Linked DNA regions of Homo sapiens: region 1 is linked to region 2. The links are contacts of gene promoters, found by promoter capture Hi-C in human tissues and cell types (Jung and others, 2019). All regions are on one chromosome and are shown on one strand. Each heading gives the region's core, a stretch centred on a gene start or on the middle of the fragment in contact. The rest is flanking DNA. Distances are from core to core; before and after follow the strand shown. Region 1 overlaps NCOA1 (nuclear receptor coactivator 1). Region 2 holds the start of ADCY3 (adenylate cyclase 3).

The links. The method cuts DNA at HindIII sites, captures the fragments that hold promoters and counts their contacts. A contact is called where the count stands out against the background at its distance.
Region 1: a fragment that was not itself captured here is called in contact with the fragment with the promoter of ADCY3 in region 2 in 2 of the 25 tissues and cell types used here (dorsolateral prefrontal cortex and mesenchymal stem cells).

The regions. Positions count from the first base shown.
Region 1 is chr2:24,497,302-24,500,001 of GRCh38, reverse strand. The region is part of intron 1 of NCOA1 (nuclear receptor coactivator 1); the gene reads right to left. Among named protein-coding and RNA genes, the nearest start is that of NCOA1, 7.4 kb to the right of the region's middle. The HindIII fragment of the contact is 5,514 bases long and covers 1-2,700 here.
Region 2 is chr2:24,918,906-24,921,693 of GRCh38, reverse strand. It overlaps ADCY3 (adenylate cyclase 3), which reads left to right and starts at 1,457. Exons shown (of 22, transcript NM_004036.5): 1 at 1,457-2,011; 2 at 2,510-2,788. The coding sequence starts at 2,707. LOC124907742 (a long non-coding RNA gene) reads right to left here and starts at 1,350. Exons shown (of 2, transcript XR_007086246.1): 1 at 1,122-1,350; 2 at 236-696. RefSeq lists silencers at 903-992, 1,003-1,212, 1,253-1,312, 1,343-2,072. The HindIII fragment of the contact is 12,687 bases long and covers 1-2,788 here.

The DNA.
Region 1 (2,700 bases), core at 56-2,555, 420 kb after region 2:
TTCTGTTGTATGCTATCAAGGTTTAAAGGACTTATCTTTAAAGGTACCCCAATTACACTGTATCATCTCTGAATTACTACCAGTTTGGCAAAAGACACACCACAGCACATTCAGTGACACTAGTTGTCTTCAACACTGTTCCCTCCGTGTAACGAGTAACGTTGGCTAGGGGCATCAGTCAAATAATAGACAGGGCTGGAACAAGGTCCAAGACTCCTCAAGACACATCCTGCCTTAAATCCTTTTTGGAACATGGCAAGGCATAAATAAATCAGTAAAATAAATCATGAACTATAAATGAGAGCCAGGGGCTTCCAACTTGTATGACCAATCTCATTTATACAGTCAGATACACTTATATTTATACAAAGAGACATTTTTACACCGAACAAACAAGTCCACTGCATCATCTTAAAAAATGCCAAGTGATAATACACTGTTTAAAAGAATACTTACTGCTTAAAAAAAAAAGTCAATGGTATGAAATAGAAGATAAAATGGAAAAGAAGTACACTAAGAACAATATAAAGCACATTTAGAGGGCATGAAATTAGATCTGATAAACAAAGGGCCATAGAACAATGCTGGAGGAATGTTGGAATATTGCAATCCTGGTTGGTCCAAAATTCATCTATATATTTAATAAACTCAAATCAACATCTAAGAATCACTGGGAGGTTAAAATTTTTTTTTAAGGTTGATGGCAGGATTTTCCTTATCAGTAACAATATATAAAACAGTAAGGAACTGCCACATATTAAATAGATGTATCTATTTTTGGAATAAAGAAATGCAGAATCAGAAAAAAGGGAGTATAGAAACATCAAAATGTAGACTTCAAAATAGTAGGGAATTATTAAAATGAATATGTTAATAAATTATGTTGGATCAACTGGCTAACTCTTGGGCAAGTATCATGCAATATGCATATCTCATATCACATGTAGGTTAAGGCATAATTCATAATCAAAAGTAAAAAACAAAAAAGTTAATTCGAAAAAAGTATAAGGCAGTGAAAAAGATTTTGTACCAACTTCTATTCAAAAAAAAAACCATATAATCTGTGTTTAAATATACATAAAAATGAGTGAATAAGTTCCCAATGTGGGTAAGCCTTACATATGGAATCATTTCAAAAACAAAAAATATGAAATTTGGGGTATAAAACCTGCCAAGAAAAGATCCACGTAAATTTGGAAAATTGACATTTCTCATTTTCATCCATATCTACATACTTACTACATACTGCTCCCCACCACCTCCCTCCATTAAAATCCACCAATGTTTTCTTACTACACCTAGACGATATGCTTCCCTCTCCCACTTCAGCTGATGCCACACTCCTTGCACTTTCCCCTGCATTACTCCGTCTTTTCATCTTTGCTATTTAATCTTCCTGAACATACTGTTCTCCTTGTCTCTATTCTTAAAGAAATCATCCCCTGCCCTCAATGCTTTTGTCTACCACCAAGTCCTCCATAAAACTTGCCCTGATTTTTCTCAAATGAAAATACAATAATCATTCCCTCTCCCTGAATGTTCAAAGCACTGTTTCAGGACCTGTCTCACAGCACTCATCACATTCAATTACTATTATAGGTATTTGTATGTTTGTCTTATCACCTCTCTCAGGTCATAATCTGCTTAAGAACAGGATCTATATTTTATCGGTTAATTTCCCAATAACCACTATCTTTTTACAGCACAGCACCTTGAACAAAGTACGTACTCATATAACTACGTCTTGACCGAATGATTGAGTAGCTACTTAGAAATTCAATTACAGACTACCTGTACCATTTAGAATGGAGAGGGAGATATTAGACATTGCAGAACAAATAACTTTTTGTTTCTTACAAACAAATTCACCAAAGTAAAGTCAATATTACACATACAGATGTTTTCAAAACTCAAGGACATTTCATCCTTCAACTATCTGGTCAAATATGATGTGATATGTTTATATACATACATACATTCACAATAGAATACCTACTGTTAAATAATCAAATCTATGCTTGATAATAAAAGTATGTAAATGTTTTAACTATATAGGCAAACTGGAATTTTAAGATAAAATCAACCATTCAAATTACAAGTGGAAACACAGAGAATGACCAAGCAATTTGTTCCAAAAAAATAAAAACAAAACCAAACCACACTAAGCTTTAGCTATTTAAATACCAACAAAACTTGAGAGGCAGAATTTTATGGCTAAGAATCCAAAACCAACCAAAGATAACCTTACCTGGATAGAAGCACCAAAGAATCAACATTACTGAAGTACAAAGGTGAGACCAGAAACAGCACAAGAATCTTTTTTTTTTTTTGAGATGGAGTCTCGCTCTGTCACCCAGGCTGGAGTGCAATGGCGCGATCTCGGCTCACTGCAACCTCCGCCTCCCTGGTTCAAGCAATTCTTCTGCCTCAGCCTCCTGAGTAGCTGGGACTACAGGCTTGCGCCACCACACCCGGCTATTTTTTGTATTTTTAGTAGAGACAGGGTGTCACCATATTGGCCAGGTCTCGAACTCCTGACCTCATGATCTGCCTGCCTTGGTCTCTGAAAGTGCTGGGATTACAGATGTGAGCCACCACGCCCAGCCCACAAGAATCTTAAAGTGACATTTTCATCAAGTAACTGGTATATATGGCTCCCGGGTCATCAGAAAGGAACAAGACTGCAGGAGTCTCCACAAC
Region 2 (2,788 bases), core at 208-2,707:
CAAGACCAGCCTAGCCAACATAGTGAAACCCCATCTACTAAAAATACAAAAATTACCCCGGGCTTGGTGGTGTGTGCCTGCAATCCCAGGTATTCAGGAGGCTGAGGCAGGAGAATTGCGTGAACCTGGGTGGTGGAGGTTGCAGTGAGCTGAGATCACAACACTGCACTCCAGCCTGGGTGACAGAGTGAGACTCAGTCTCGAAAAAATAAAAAATAGAAATAAAATAAAACAATGGGGCAAAGTTTTGCTTTATTTAAATTACCAAACTCCTATATCTGATGTTAGGTCCCCTACCTTTGGAATCAAAGCCCTGCGAAGTATGGGCTGAAGGTGGCGCCTTTTCAGACAGAGTGTGAGGGAACGGTAGAAACAGCAGTGGCAGGATCGATTCTCTAATGGATCCATTCCCCGAGGGATGCAAGGTGATGCCTGAGGTTCTGGAAGGGGTGCCCGCGGATAACTCTCAGGGGCATGGGGTGGCAGCTCCATCCAGGGTCTGGATAGCCAAGTTTCTCTCCCCTCTGTTCATTCCTTCAGCTCTCCCCAGGGGAGATGACCCCCTATTGCTGCTGGCTGTCCTCAGCACTTACCTTCCCACACATGCTTTTGTCCCTTTTGTCCCAAAACATTCTATCTCTTTCCTCTTCCTTTATTTAAATTCCCAAAGCCTGTAGTTGATCTTAGCACGGTGTTCTGTCAAATGCAAGGAAAATAATTTATACTATGGTGTAAGAGACTGATAGGTTTAACTATTCAAAGGAGCATTCGCATCTTTAAGGGACAGTTTGTGAACTCAAACACATCTCAAACGGGTAGAATGTGCACGGGAAATCTCTTCGAAGCAGGGTCTCAGGAACTCTTCCAGTTCCACGTGTGTAGTGCCCACCGGGCCACCGCCACCCGCCTCCTGGGAGCAGGACAGGGCTCCGCTGCCGAGCCCCTCTGCGGAAAGCTCAGGCCCGGCGCTCCGGAGTCTGGGCTCCCGGGGTGGGCGGGGATACTTAGGCCCCACGTGCCCCGCGGCGGAGCGGTCCCCAAACCTGAGCCCTGGCCTCTGCCGGCCCGGAAGGAAGCCGCGGCGGAGGAGGGGGCGGCGGGGTGCCCCGAGCGCGCCTCACCTGCGGGCGGGCGCGTCCCGGGCTTCCATCCTCCTAGACCGGGCCTCCTCGCTGGAAGGGGTGGATTCGCCCCAGCCCTGCCGCCCACCGCCCACCGCCCACGCCCGCGCCCGCGCCCGCGCTTCCACGCAGCCATCGCCCCAGCCCGCCGCCCGCGCCGGATCGGGGGCCGCCCGGGCCCCTCCACCTCTCGCCCGCGCGGGTCCTGGGACCGCCGCCCGGCGCCTCCCTCGCCGCCCCACTCCGGAACGCGCCGCCGAGAGGGCGGAGACTGGGGCGAGGGAGGGGCCGCCCCGCCCGCCTCCCGCCTCCCGCCTCCCGCCTCCCGGGGCCTGGAGCGCGCGTGGCCCCGGAGCCGCCGGCGCCGCGCGGGGAATAGCTGTGCAGCACGCCGAGCCCGGACTCGGCTGGCTCGGCTCGGCGCGGGCGGGCGAGAGGATGCTGGCGGGCTTCCCCGGGCTCGGCCCGCGCTCCCGCCGGGGAGGGCCCCGCGCGCGCCCCTAGCAGCCGCCGCCGCCGCGGGTGCAGGGGAGGGGTCCGGAGAGCCGCGCTCGCCGCCGCCCGCGCCTGCCGGCCCCCGCACGGCCCCTGCCCCTGAGCCTCAGCCCCAGGGCGGGCGCGCTGGGCCGGCGCCCACGGATCTCCCAGCCCTCGTCGCCGCCTCCTCCTTCCCCCTGCGGCCGGGCGCCCGCGGATGCTGAGGGGCAGCCCTGCGCCTCTCCCGGTCGGATCCCGGGCCTGACGGCGGGAGATCGCGCTCCGGCCGGGCCCCGAGGCGCTGCCGGGGCGGCGCGGCTCTGCGGGGAGCAGCCCTCGGGCGCGCCGAGCTCTCCCGCCCCAGCCCGCGCGGGGACCGTCCCGGAGCACGCGGTGGCCGAGTTCCCGCACAGGTAAACGCAGGGGCAGGGCCAGGCTTCCGGGGGGGAAGACAGCGCCCCGAGCGTGGGAAGGGGGCCGGATCGGAGCCCGAGCCTCCAAGGGTTTGGTGGAAAAAGGAAGTAAACAGAAGGAAGGCTCAGGAATCCCCCACGATGGTCCTGATTTCTTTCCGGCACATTTTATTTACAGCTTCTAAGGACTGGGCCTGGAGGGAATTTAGGTGAGGAAGTCGGGGACTGAGAAAGAAGAGATGACAGAGAGAAACCGGTTACCAGGGATGGAAAGGCGGCTAGGCCCTTCCACAAGCCAGGGACAGGAAATTGAGTGTCTGGCGTGGACAGGACTAAGTGTGCCTGCGGTGGGCGGTGGTGTGAGCCGGGGGTGGCAGGGAAGGCCCTGGGTTGGGAGGCTCTTGCAGCAGAGATCCTTTTATGAGGGTTAGGGCGGGTCATGGGGAAACCGCAAGGTAGGAGGGAAGAGGTGCTTCTACTCAGCAATGCCCTTTTCAGTTCTAGCTGATCAGTGCTACCTGTGCTCTGGAAACCCGCTCTGCGTTCCTGCTGGAGGTGGCCTCCCCTCCGCCCCAGACAAGAAGAGGCCCTCAGCCCTCCCCCGGTCTCAGAGAGCCCTGAGAGGAGGCCCAGTCCAGAGCTCTTCCTCCGTTCCCAGTCCACTTCTCTAGGGCCAGTAGCAGACACCAGCCAGTATGCCGAGGAACCAGGGCTTCTCCGAGCCCGAATACTCGGCCGAGTACTCAGCCGAGTACTCCGTCAGCCTGCCCTCCGACC